4 separate regions of the Homo sapiens genome follow, and all the other regions are linked to region 1. The links are contacts of gene promoters, found by promoter capture Hi-C in blood cells and fetal thymus (Javierre and others, 2016). All regions are on one chromosome and are shown on one strand. The core of a region is centred on a gene start or on the middle of the fragment in contact, and the rest is flanking DNA. Distances in the headings are between cores, read along the strand shown.

Evidence for each region. Contacts are between HindIII fragments. The CHiCAGO score rates a contact against its expected background, and 5 or more counts as called.
Region 2: a contact is called between a fragment that was not itself captured here and the fragment with the promoter of PXDNL in region 1, in 4 of 17 cell types (non-activated CD4 T cells, activated CD4 T cells, total CD4 T cells and 1 more). The highest score is 6.5, in non-activated CD4 T cells.
Region 3: a contact is called between a fragment that was not itself captured here and the fragment with the promoter of PXDNL in region 1, in 11 of 17 cell types (total CD4 T cells, non-activated CD4 T cells, M0 macrophages and 8 more). The highest score is 7.5, in total CD4 T cells.
Region 4: a fragment that was not itself captured here is called in contact with the fragment with the promoter of PXDNL in region 1 in 1 of 17 cell types (non-activated CD4 T cells); the score reaches 6.1 in non-activated CD4 T cells.

What each region holds. Positions count from the first base shown.
Region 1 is chr8:51,807,318-51,810,837 of GRCh38, reverse strand. It overlaps PXDNL (peroxidasin like), which reads left to right and starts at 1,393. Exons shown (of 23, transcript NM_144651.5): 1 at 1,393-1,657. The coding sequence starts at 1,494. RefSeq lists enhancers at 976-1,497, 1,498-2,020. The HindIII fragment of the contact is 1,936 bases long and covers 1,248-3,183 here.
Region 2 is chr8:52,036,608-52,040,127 of GRCh38, reverse strand. No RefSeq gene overlaps it. Among named protein-coding and RNA genes, the nearest start is that of PCMTD1-DT, 140 kb to the right of the region's middle. The HindIII fragment of the contact is 3,013 bases long and covers 30-3,042 here.
Region 3 is chr8:52,016,569-52,020,088 of GRCh38, reverse strand. All of the region lies in intron 1 of LOC124901944 (a long non-coding RNA gene), which reads right to left. Among named protein-coding and RNA genes, the nearest start is that of PCMTD1-DT, 120 kb to the right of the region's middle. The HindIII fragment of the contact is 1,984 bases long and covers 708-2,691 here.
Region 4 is chr8:51,995,248-51,998,767 of GRCh38, reverse strand. The region is part of intron 1 of LOC124901944 (a long non-coding RNA gene); the gene reads right to left. Among named protein-coding and RNA genes, the nearest start is that of PCMTD1-DT, 98 kb to the right of the region's middle. The HindIII fragment of the contact is 1,077 bases long and covers 1,463-2,539 here.

The DNA of each region.
Region 1 (3,520 bases), core at 144-2,643:
CTACCCTTTTTAAGTCTACTTTATGAATGCAAGATATTTTTATATTTTTGTATTTTATATATTTTATATTATTTATATTTTTTGTATTTTATATTTTGAACTGCAAACAAGGCACAAACCTGCAGGTCTTGTCTATGTCCTCCAAATCACAGGCACTGCCAAGAGCATAGTGATTGTTGGGATTTAAAGGAATAAATTTCGTTTTTTGGCTTTATTGGTATACTTGGACAATAAAAGTCATGTGAACAATGTCAAATGTAAAGTTTAAAATAAATCATTCTTGTTCATGGAGATTAGTTTTGTTTTTTAGATCTTTTTACATTTTAATCTCCCCAAAATCACATATTTAGATATGAACATTTTGCCAAAAGAGGGCAGTATTCGCCTACAGTAGAATGTAAAGGGACTGAAACATTTCTGCAGAGACAAGGATGAACTTATTTTCCTCTTAAGATTGGTCTACTAGTCTGATCATCTGGGATTGACCATGCAAGTTTTAATTTGTTTTCTATTACTTTTATGGATTTAAAACATTTTTGTTTGAAAATGTTAGTCTTTAAAGATAAAGCCAAAAATCTGTTTAAAAATACCTGCTTACAGAATGACCAAAAAGTAGATGTTTTCATATTTATTAAGTTTTCAGACACGTCCTCAACGAGGTGCTGCTCACTTCAGGGAAAGATGGCCAGTTCAAACTGCTGATGAAAAGTCTGCAACCAGCAAGACCACTGCTGCCAGTGTGTCCTGAGGGAGCTTGCATCTGTTTGACTTTACATATACATACTTAGGTTTGTCCATCAGTTGTATCCTCTTGAAGGAGGTATGTGAGTTCATGGTTTTAAGCATATAAATTTAAACGTTAAAAGAAGAAATCAGAAGTAGCCCGTTTGAGTCTTACATGAGTGAAATGTGTTGGGTTTCAGCAGCAGAATATATAGAAGGAAATGAAACAATTTTTATTAAAGAGCATAGTTTGGAATAAAGAAAGAATATGTGCACCTAGATGAACGAATTAGAACTCTGCCTGCCCTTTAGGGTTTGGTAATGTTACCAGATAAAAAAGAAGAAAAGCTGTTCTGCATTGTTTCAATACATTCTTAATCAACTTGGGCTTCAAGAGGACAGCTGGAGGCTAAGAGGTCGGGTTTTTCATCAAATGCGCAGTGGAAGTAATTTTGGAAAAGTTTGTTTGCATTATGCTGCCTAAAACACGGTGTTTTAGAAAGAGGCTTTTGCATTGAAAAGCTTCTCGTCCTCGCCTCTGGGAGTCTAGTGCTTCCTAGAGCTGCTTGTGCCCTCAGCCCTGTAATGTGATATCCCTCCTCCTGGATTGGTCAGAGGGGTGTCCTTTCCCTGGGAGCTGCTTTCCACCACGGCTCCCAAACTTGGCTCAGTCCAGCAGCCACCATCACCACCACTGCGGTTGCTGCTGCAGCTGCAGCTGCTGCTCTCCCTCCGGCTGCTTCTTCGCGTGGCCAGCAGCGAATGGAGCGATGGAGCCCAGACTGTTCTGCTGGACCACTCTCTTTCTCCTGGCCGGGTGGTGCCTGCCAGGGTTGCCCTGCCCCAGCCGGTGCCTTTGCTTTAAGAGCACCGTCCGCTGCATGCACTTGATGCTGGACCACATTCCTCAGGTACCACAGCAGACCACAGTTCTGTAAGTTCACATAAATTCCCCAGAAACCCTCTTCCCCAATGCTTCATTGCTTCTCTGCTAGGACCTGTGTCCTTTTAATTTACGATTCCTAATGCTCTCCCTGCTTGTATACTTAGAAGAGGCTTTTCACTTTTCAAACAATTTCATGGTTCTGCTCTGTTAGACTAGAAAATGTAAGCAATGATGAGTTGACATAAATATATTTGTTTTGGATTCAGTTCTCTTCCAGCATCTTCCAGAACTTAGCATTGAGAATTCTCGTCTTCATTCTTCCTTCAATAATTTTCCTGCATACTTTCTCAATTTATTCCTATTCATCCTCTACTCCCAAGTCTTTGGGCCTCTTAATTGGTCAGCACGTGTCTGCCCCATTTGGAAGGAACTAATTTAACTTTAGAGTGTGGTTTCAATTGATTATGTGCTGACAAATTGTTAGGCTTTGTACTGTGTGTACCTCCTGGGAGGGTGAAGTCCTGAGCCCTCAGCACTTGAAGCACTGTCTGTCTCCAGAACAGACCCTCAAATGGTCCAGTAGAGTTCTTGAATGCTTAAAAGCCTTGTGGAGCAGCCGCTTAGACTAATCGGCATCTAGGAGGCATTACGGGATAGTAGGGCAAACCAGAATTTGGAAGTCAAACAGGTCTGAGTTCAAATCCTATCTTCTCATCTTTAATATTCAGATAATAAACCCAAACATTTAGATTTATTTAGATTAAATTAAGTCATAATTAGATAATTAGAAGGGCAAATCACCACAAAAGAAGAAAAGGATCTGTTTCTAGGGTCTATTTTTAAAGAAAGAAAAAGACGACAAATTCAAAAATTTAAGAAAAAATAAAAGAAGAAAAGGAAAAATGCTGAAAGATGCAGACTAAAGAGGTTTCCTGCTCTATAATAAATATTTTGTGGGTTGTGTCATGTTCATGGAAGACAAAACTGCTTGCAGTGTTTCAAGTCCATTCTTGGGCAGAGGGAAATAGCTTAAAATTCCTGGAATTTTGAGATATAAATGTTTAAGAGGATCATTGCCACACATTTGTCAGTCATAATCGTGAAATGAGGACTTGGTAATAAAAAGTCCAATTTGATGGTATTTACATAGAAAATGACATATTATCCATAGATTTTCATTTCTATAAAGCATTTCATTAATTTTATATGCATGCAGATATCAAAATACGTCTTACTGTAATAACTGAAAGGATTCTTGAACTTGGGAGCACTGCTTATTGCTATGTGGACAGCACAGTTCTGCAAGTGCCTTCAGACTCAGAACCAGCCATTTGTCCTTTTGTAATGACAGTTTTTTGGTAGATAGCAGCAAAGCCTTGGAGAAGGGGCTGCTTGTCTAATGAAGTATCTTGGAGCTACATGAGGTACAACTCGACCTAAATTTTGTTTCCTAGGTGTTTCAAAGAAGAGATTAGCTTGCATTAGACACACACCTCTAAATGTAATGAGCAGAACTGAAGTGATGTTGTCAGTGTTGTCATGCAGAGCCTTCCACTATGTTTAAAAATAAAGCTTAATGGTGGATTCTCAGGCCCTTGGCTAGATTCCTGTCTGGGAGTCTGGTGCCACCACTTACAAAATGTGTTGCCTTGGACAAATTCTTAACTTCTTGGTGTCACAGTTTCCTAATCTGTAAAAATGGAGATGCTAACAGTGTTTGATATGGTTTGGATCTGTGTCCCCACCCAAATCTCATGTTCAATTGTAACTCCCAATGTTGGAGGTGGGGTGCAGTGGGAGGTGATTGGATAGTGGGGGCGGATTCTCATGGTTTAACACCACCTCCCTTGGTGTTGTCATGGCGAGAGTGAGGTATCACAAGATCAGGTTGTTTAAAAGTATATAGCTCTT
Region 2 (3,520 bases), core at 287-2,786, 230 kb before region 1:
AGCCTCACTATATTAACATGCTATAAGCTTGTTAGATAACTCAGTTTGTTGGAAATATGTGAAGTGTAAATAATGACAATTACTCAAGAAATTATTGATAATTATATAACTTTTTTAAAAGTTACTAGGAATATAGTCCGGCCTCAGATTTTTATAAATATGTATTAATCCAACTGTAAGTTCTGAGGACTTACTCTATGTTAAATATGCAAAGACAAATACAATCTAAAGGGAGAAGTCTGTGCTCATTGAGGCTCCTTGTCTAGACTCTGGAAGGAAAATCAGACAAGTAAAAAATAATCGACTACAGTGTATGAAATAAGCAAGTGTCATATTAGGTCAATTAGAAGGGCAGACTGAGGTCATGGAAGGCTTCCCAGTGACAGGGCCAGGGGTCAGCACAGCCTAGCATGGATGTGACTGGGAAACATGCAAGAAATAGGGACAATTTCTATTCTCAAGGGTTTCAAATGTCATGAAAACGATTTTAGAATTTGTTTAGTTGGAAACCTTTGAAGAATTTTAAGCAGGAGTATCATCCCATTGGGTATGAGTTTTAGAAAATTCCTTTATTCCACCAGCATTGTAGCAAATGTGTTGAGGCGAGGGTGATATTTGAGGTGTGGCAACCAGACTGGAGGCTTTTATGGCTTAATCCAGGCAGGAGATTATGCAGGTGGGAACTGGGCAGTGACAGCGGGAATGAAAAGAAGGTGTGTGTTGAAGATGGGGGTAGGAGCCATCCATAGCAACTGGTGAAAACTACATGAATGGAGAGGGAAGGCAGATGTCACAGATGACTCTCAGATGACTGTAGAGGAAAATTCACCACAACAATAGAGTGAATTTCCATTTCCAATTCAAGTTGTGAAAATTAAAAGCAACGAGAGATATTAATGACCAATTTACTTAAAGGACAGACAGTTAACTTTGCAGATGAGAAGTAATGAGATCATGCTAAACCAACAGCATGGAGGTGAAGCAGAAGGAAAATGACAGAAATGAATCACCAAGTATTGTCTATTGCTCAACCATCTAGAGAAGGATTTGGGGAAAGTAGAACAAAAAGTGTCCAGAGAGAGAGGGAGATGTAGAGCAAGTGGGTTTGTGTTTTAATTTCTCGATTTGGGTTGGAAAGTAATGAAAAGGCAAATAAAACATTGGAACATGCTAAGTATGTCTCTCATGGATGGCAGTGGGAGGGATCTTAAGGTTATTAGGAAAAGAAGATTTTGACAAAAGCACAGAGGTCCAGGGCTACCCACCTGCATGTGAACCACCCAAGCACAGAGAGAGAAGCATTGGGTCTTAGAGGAAGGAAACCCCGAAAGCAGGCGAGGGTGCCAGCCCCCATCTGGAGCCCCAAGTTGTTTTTTCAGAGCTTGCCATGTGCAGTCCCTGAGTCAGTGAAGGGGTCCTGCCTCTGTAAAATATCTGTCACTCTTTGAGTTTCCTCTCCAAGATACTGAAACATCTGGTTCCTCTGAATGTTGGGACTCTAAAGAGGAAATGAGAACATTTTAAACAACGGAAGAATACCAAGGCAAGTTCCAAATGTTGAGAGTTCTAGGCTGACACAAAATTTGTCGGGTTAATTTAAGTTGTAAAAGCTAAATATTGTGGGCTGATTTCTGTCCTTTCAAAATGCATATGTTGAGGTCCTAACCTCCAGTACCTTGTAAGGGACTGTATTTCCAGATAGGGCCTTTAAAGAGGTGATTAAGTTAAAATGAGGTTATTAGGGTGGGCCCTAATCCAGTATGGCGGGTGTCCTTTTAAGAAGAGATTAGGGGGCCGGGCGAGGTGGCTCACGCCTGTAATCCCAGCACTTTGGGAGGCCGAGGCGGGCGGATCACGAGGTCAGGAGATCGAGACCATCCTGGCTAACACGGTGAAACCCCGTCTCTACTAAAAATACAAAAAATTAGCGGAGCATGGTGGCAGGCACATGTAGTCCCAGCTATTCGGAAGGCTGAGGCAGGAGAATGGCGTGAAACCGGGAAGCAGAGCTTGCAGTGAGCCGAGATATCGCCACTGCACTCCAGCCTGGGTAACAGAGAGAGACTCCATCTCAAAAAAAAAAAAAAAAAAAAAGAGATTAGGATACAGAGAGACACAGAGGGAAGCCCATTTGAAGACACAGGAAGATTACATCCTCTACAAGCCGAGGAGAGAGCCCTCAGGAGAACCAACCCTGCTGACACCTTGATCTCAGACTTCCAGCCTCTAGAACAGTGAGACAACAAATTTCTGTTGCTTAAGTCATCCAGTCTGTGCTACTTCGTTATGGTAGCCCTAGCAAACTAATTAACTAAACAAGTCATTCTCCAAGTATTTACCTTGAGATTTACTCATCTGAACTTGGTACGGTTATTCACTCCAAATTAGATAATTTCCACAAAGTCGTTTCAATTACAGTTATGTGTTGCTTAATGATAGCAATACCTTCTGAGAAACGCACTGTTAGGCAATTCCGACACTGCGAACATCATAAAGTACACTTACACAAACCCAGATGGTAGAGCCCACCCCACACCCAGGCTATATGGTACAGCCCATTGCTCCTAGGCGCAAACCTGTACAGCATGGACTGTACTGGATACTGCAGGCAATTGGAACACAACGGTATTTGTGTATCTAAACATATCTAAACCTAGAAAAAGTACAGTAAAAATATAGTATTAGACAGAATAGGACCATCATTACATATGCAGCCCACCATTGACTGAAATGTCGCTATGTGGCTCATGAATATAATACTGCATAGACTCAGCTTGAGGGATTCATTTCAAAAAAATTTAAACATCCGGGCCGGGCGCAGTGGCTCACGCCTGTAATCCCAGCACTTTGGGAGGCCGAGGCGGGAGGATCACGAGGTCAGGAGATCGAGACCATTCTGGCTAACACGGTGAAACCCAGTCTCTACTAAGAAACACAAAAAATTAGGCAGGCGTGGTGGCCGGCGCCTGTCCAACCAGATACTCGGGAGGCTGAGGCGGGAGGCTGAGGCAGGGCAGTGGCGTGAACCCGGGAGACGAAGCTTGCAGTGAGCCGAGATCACCCCACTGCACTCCAGCCTGGGCAAAAGAACGAGACTCAGTCTCAAAAAAAAAATAATAATAATTAAACATCCAATCATGCCTTCACTGTAGTAGGCTTCAAGAGGGTCCCTCGCAAATTTAATACAAAAGAAAGCCTGAAGTTCGTTCTACATTGTGTCTTTATGAAAATAATTTCAACCTTCCAAATATAGCTTGAGTATCTGGGGTACTATTAGAAATGAAAAAGTATTCTAGTAAGCAGAGGAACTACATTTACAAATTGTCATGTTTGTATTTTTTAAAATAACATCTATTGTAAAGGTACTTTGTGAATTAGTTACATGATTTCAGCCTACTTACCTGAACAAATGATTCCATTACTAACTCTAGCACCACATACCAATATTTAAAACTCTATCCTACACTTCATAAAAACATCATTTTTGGTCATTTGTATGTCATAAATGTTAGTGACAAGG
Region 3 (3,520 bases), core at 450-2,949, 210 kb before region 1:
AATTTCCTAGCCAACAGAAATAACTGTTTTACAATTGTTGCTGTTTTCTTCTAGAGAATATAGCTATCAAAGCTGAATAGAACATTAGGAGCTCTGTAATTAATGGCCTGAATTAGGTTTGATTTTGTATTTAACCAAATTTCAAATGATTGAGGACCTGTGAGTTATAAATTCTGAGTTTAAAGGATAGAAGCCAGTTGTTTCATTCTGAAAATAATTTTCTACAAGTAAATCAAGGAAGTAGAATTTGGGTTTCTGGTTTGCCTACCTAATCAGAAGTCAAATTGAAAATACTTTATTATAAGATGACAAGATACAATTTTCTCTCCATGTTAACTATACCTCAAGTCCAGCTAGAGTTGATATTAATAGAGTATATCATATATATTTCAGTTGCATTCTCTGCCAATGCCTATAGTTAATCTCTGCTTACATATGCTATCATTCATTCAATAAATATTTGAGAGTTTACCTCATGCTAGACTCTATGCTAGGTACTGGATACAAAAATAGAAGGAAGAATAGAACCATAAAGATATCATAATCTGGACAGCATGTACGGATAACAAACAATACATCTATTGATTGCTTCATACATAATAGCACCCCAAGATAGACATTATTCTCTTTGCATAGAAAAGGTTGTATCTAAAGTCTTCAGAACTGCAGGTGGCAGTGCTGGAATTTAAATTCTGTGCTCCAAAGCTTGTGTTATTTTAATAAAAGACTTGGCTTTCTCAAAGGAGTTAGATTTGTACCAATTGCATATACTTTGAACAATGCTCTAAGAGTGGACACACAGCAATGGGGCCGCAGAAGAGTGCATGATTCTTTCTTCCTGGAGAGACAGTGACAATTGACTTAGGCCTTGAAGATTATGCCATGTTGTGCCAAGCAAAGAGGGGAAGAAAAGACATTGCATCTAGAAAAAACAATTTGCCAAAAAGAGCACAGAGACATAAAACACACAGTTTTCATGGAAGGACTAATTGCTACGTGGTAGGCTATATGCTGTAATGAGTACCTGAGGATGATGCTGAAAAGACAGGCCAGAGCAGGTTCATGAAGGTCATGAAAGACATCCAAATTAGTTTTGTATTCCTTGCATGCTAGCTTGGTTTTTAAGCAGAACATGGTCAGATTAGTGCTGTATAAGATATAAAGTATCACTGGCTATGTGGAAAATGGGTAGAAAGGGGAGATGCCAGAGTGAAGAGGAGCAGAGTGAGAATAGTACAAAGTCTTATTGAGATGGAAAGTCAAGAACAGATTGGAGATGCTGATTAGGTGGCGTACGTTTGATCAAAAGGGGCCTGAGGAAGGTGAGTGGGTGCTAAAGCCATCCATTCTTGGCCAGTCAGGAATATTGCCTAAGCAAGGAGCAAGTGCATATTCCAATGTTGCTTGCTCGATTTATTCTTGTACTCTCAAAATACTGACTGTGGCTGAATGTGGTCATTTGGCAGGAATTATAAACTGAAACTTTCATTTTCTCAATGTAAAAGATATAGATTATAAGCCTAGGGGCCAGAGAAAGAGAGGAGAGAGAGAGAGAGAGACAGAGAGAGAGAGAGAGGGAAATACATAGATATATATATATATATTAGAATTAGTTTTCTTTTAATTTGGAATATACATGAATACATTCTCAATATTGACAGTGAAAAATAATCAAGTACTAAATTCTATGTATTAGTAACACAATTATAATCAAAACAGTGGTTATCAAAAATAATGCACCTAATTTTACAACTCTGGTTTTTTTAATTCCAGTTTTACAACTTTGGCTTTTTAAATTCTAATTTTCTAAAAACTATGAGATATAATCTTACAGATGTAATTATATCTCATAGTTTTTAGAAAATATATACATTACAGAATGATATGTAGGTATCTAGGTACATATGTTTTTTCTTTTAGAACCATATCTAATTCAGAGAAAATATATTACAACCTAATATCTTACCCAAACTCTTAGGGTAGACATAACTAAGAAAGAGAATACGAAGGGAAGATGGAATTGTTTTCAACTGAGATCTTCCAGGACTGTTTGAGGGTAGAAAAAGAAGATTAAGAACAAAAGAAAGTAGATGCCAAGAATAAAAGGAAAGGGTGGCAAATATAAAAAACATGATTTGAAAAATATTTATTTAGGCATCCTCGCTTTCAGAACTATTTTCAAAGACATTTTTTTCACTTTGTAAAACACACTTTATAAAATTGTTCATAGTCTAGACATCCTAAATCCTAAGTAGCATTTCACAAGGAATGTGTCAATAGCAGAGGGAAAATAGACAACCTAAAATCACAAAGATGTGGTGAAAATATCATAGAAATATTTAAATAGCATCAACAGTGTTTAAATTAGATGGATATATCGCATCCATTTGACATCAAATAGAATCATTCCCTTCCCACTGCCTGTCAACAAAATCACAACATTAAGTCTGTTAATGTCTACGAAAATATCTAAGGCTATTTTTTTCTCATGGAAGTATGCTGACATCTGTGAAATCCAGGTGGTAGGTTCTTGTTACATTTTTCACTGTGTTTTTTGAACATTTTAAATATTTAATAATTAGATATTTAAATGATTGATAGTAAAAAGGAATATTTGTCGGTGCAGAATGATATGAAATTTTAAAGAAAGAAGTTATCTGAAGAGGATCTTCACATTGGTTTGTTCAAGCTTGGCATGACAGGCTCAGAGACGTTCTGTGATCAGGCAGCCTGGCACAAACCACATTTCTCTAAATGCTCATTTAATTCCAGAAAGGAGGACAAGCTTTATTACGCTTTGACACAACCTCTGAGATGTTTTTCTATGTGTTTGCTTGAGTGTGTATCACTGCATGTGCTGACCGATAAGCTTCAACTTTTATGAAAATAAAAGGATGACTAAGCAAAATACAAAGTTCTCCTTTACTTCTACAGTATAATATAATGTGCCTAGTATTTTCCTTCTTTTTTTACTGTTTAAACTAATGTAATTAAGTGCAGTGAAGATGTCAGAGAGACCCAAGTAAAATTTTTACAGATTTTTTTTAATATTCAAAACTTTGGTTGAATTTTTGATAAAAGATAAATAACAACTAATTTTATATTAGTTTATTAAATAAACTAATTAATGGTTTAATTATGAGGTATTATAGTGGAGTGTGCCACTGCACTCCGGCCTGGATAACAAAGCAAGACACTGCCTCAAAAAAAAAAAATCAAGGTTGTTATTTTTCAGGTCGTATTCTGCCATTTTCAGTAAGATATAATGCAAGACGCCTTGACAAAATCTGATCACCAGAAAGGAGTATTTGAAGCCACTTTATGAAAGATTAGTACATAACTTTAAGTCTTCCTAAATATATAAAAGTACCATATTGTAAAATAAATTCTCCACCTAGCATCTCAGGTGGTCCTGCTTAAACACAAGGCGAAAATGGTATTCTTCTGTTCAAATACTGACGTGGCTTCCTGGTTCCTCAGAATAGATGCCAAAGTTCTTGAAAAGATCAACATGCCGCTG
Region 4 (3,520 bases), core at 752-3,251, 190 kb before region 1:
CTGCTAGAAAGACACAAAAAATGTCCTCGAACGACCTCAAGGCACTGGCTTTGTAGAAAGAATGAGGTGAAAAGAAATGCAAAGGATTTACTTTTCACTACAAATTATTTTGTACACTTTTTGAATTTTCTACCATTCATGTATTTCCCGTGTTTTTTTGTTTGGTTGTTTTTTGTTTTTGAGAGATGGAGTCTCGCTCTGTCACCCAGGCTAGAGTGCAGTCGCGCGATCTCTGCTCACTGCAACCTCCGCCTCCCGGGTTTAAGCAATTCTCCCACCTCAGCCTCCCGAATAGCTGGATTACAGGCATCCACTATCATGCCTGGCTAATTTTTGTATTTTTGTAGAGACAGGGTTCCACCATGTTGGCCAGGCTGGTCTTAAACTGCTGAACTCAGGTGATCTGCCTGCCTCAGCCTCCCAAACTGTTGAGATTATAGGCATGAGCCACCATGCCTGGCCCCATGTTTTATTTTTTAAATGGCACAGAGATTATCTGGGCAGTGGGACTGTGAATAATTTTCTGCCTTCTTGTAATTTTTTCTACTAAAAATGAGTCCATGCTTGACTAACGGAGAGAGGGGTACACTGAAAACTTGCAACAGTGTTTGCAGATTCTAAAAGGTCTTGTGACTTGTCCTGTGACCCCCTTCTACAAGGACTCATTCCAACCACTTGCCCACTTGAGACCAAACGGCCTCAGCACCGTGAAGGAAAGGCACACAATTTGAGAGGAGCAGGGCAATTCTCTGCTCCAGTAATTGTGGATTTTAGTCACACAAAGAATATTGCAGGTTTATGCTAAATGAAGCTTGCTTCCAGTTTATTATATATTATTCTATGAAGCATTATTCATTATTCCACATTTGTGTGAAAGATGATGTCTTTAGTAGGCAAGAAGCAGAACGTGGCTAGGGAGTTTACCAAAAAGAATTGATCCAAAACCATGCTCACTGGTTATTATCCTCATTGGAGCAGGGACAGAAAAAGAACTGGTTATGTATTAGCAAAAATCAAATTGTGATTTAAAGGTATTAATTTAGTTAACCACATGTATGCATGTGATTAAAATGCAATATTGCTGTGATTATAATGCAATCAGCAAATTATTAAACTGCAATCAAAATGTAAACAAGTCCTGTGTGTCTGCCAGAAGTCTCCTCATCTCATTATTTTAACTCAATCTGTAAACTAGTTTATAGTAAATAGACTCTTTCATATTTCTCAGTTGTCACATTTCATTTTTTCTCTTAATTTGAAAACTGAAAAAAAAAATATCAGCGAGATATTGTTAAGGAATGTAATGTATCTTTCCAAATGTTATTTTAAAAGTTATACAAATCAGGGTTTATCCATATTACTATACTAAGTTTGATGTGCTAAAAGAAAAATAATTAATGTAAACACCTTGTTTATATATTTAAAACACAAAGATTAAGCAACATATTAATGACAATAAGCTTAACACTATTTTCACGATTTGTAGATTAGTTTACAAATTAATTTTTAAAAGATAGTAGTATGTGCTGAAGAAGACACTAGCTAAAAACAAAGATAGTTGTATATAAATGTGTTTTGTTCCCGCAATACTAGCACTGAATATGATTGCACTTTTAAAAATATTTTAATGCAGATAATTTTTAGATGTCAAAATTGGAGAAATGGTGTATTTTACTTAAATCCCATGTTAACCAAATCCCTAGTTCTCTATGTTCTGCCCACATTTAAAAAAAAAATACCTTGCTAGGCCGGGCACTGTGGCTCACGCCTGTAATCCCAGCACTTTGGGAGGCCGAGGCAAGCGGATCAAGAGGTCAGGAGATCAAGACCATCCTGGCTAACACAGTGAAACCCTGTCTCTACTAAAAATACAAAAAATTAGCCAGGCATGGTGGCAGACACCTGTAGTCCCAGCTACTCAGGAGGCTGAGGCAGGAGAATGGCATGAACCCGGGAGGCAGAGCTTGCAGTGAGCCAAGATCATGCCACTGCACTCCAGCCTGGGCGACAGAGTGAGACTCCGTCTCAAAAAAAAAAAAAAAAAATTAGCTGGATGTGGTGGCTCATGCCTGTAATCCAAAGTACTTGGGAGGCTGTGGCAGGAGAATCACCTGAACCCAGGTGGTGGAAGTTGCAATGAACCAAGACCGTGCCACTGTACTCCAGCCTGGGCAACAGAGTGACTCCATCTCAAAAAAATATAGATATAGATATAGATATAGATATAGATATAGATATAGAGATAGAGATAGAGATATAGAGATAGAGATATATATAGATATAGATATATAGATATAGATATAGATATCTTGCTGGTTTTCTGATCCTAAATTATACCAGAAGGAAATAAACACTCTCTAAAATATTTCACCCATCCTATCCTAGTACATGCCCTAAACGAAAACGTAAAATATTTTTCATCAATGGTATCCTAATTTCTATTTTAACTTACATTATACTGCCTATTGTTTAATATGAGCTTTTTTTTCCTCTTTTCCAGACTTCTTTGGAGTCCTGTCATCTAAGCTACAATAAAGCTTTGTTCTTCATTGGAAAAATCTTGCTGGAAAATCTGAATCTAGCTGTGGTGTTGTAATATAGGTGGGTTGGGCTGCCTTCAAAAGGTTGAGACACAAAGGGCTATTTCATTTAAGAAAAATAGAGTGTCTTGGAATCATTTCCTTAGACTAGGGTGGGTCCCAGTGGCAATTATGGTGGTGGAGCCTTTGCTTCCAGACAGCCTCGGTGAAAGCAGGCATTGTCTATGCCCATGACTGGAAGAGCTTAGAGGTACCTGAAAATTGGCATGGTTGTTAAATAAATCACAGTGTCTCTTCTCTTTACCTTTGCCTTTAAAATAATAATCCACCATGTTAAAAATGGTAAAGTACAACTTTTCTGATTCCATTCTTTAAGAACTCAGTTATATATAAAATCAATGGAAAAATAACATTATTCTATTTTTTCTTGTCTTTTTTAATACAAAAATTTTCATGAATCTATTTTTCCATGTCTGCCTTTTAATTTATAATATATTCTGTGGTTTACTTATTAATTCTATAATTGTTATATATTTGAGTTGTTAGTAGTTGTTGATATATTGTGCAACTATTTCATACAAATAATGTTGCTCTACCTTAAGAATAAGTAAATAAAATGAATTGTTGGCGCAATCTATAAAACCAAACATTAAAAAAACATATTAAAGAGATAACTCATTGAATTTTAAGAACATATTACATAAAACAATAATAATATGTGTGCCAGGCAATGTTCTAAGTGACTTACATATATTCACTTTTAATCCTTAGAACAGTCTCATAGAAGACTATTCTATGGGACTAAATGGGATAAAAATGGAAACTATTTTTTATCCCATTTTACAGATAAAACTGAAGCACAGAAAAATAAAGCAACTTGTCCAAGGTCACACAGATATTATGCAAAAGAGCTGATATTCTAACTCAGGCTCTCTGGTATCAGAGTACACCCTCTCAACCATTATACTACCTTGCCTCTG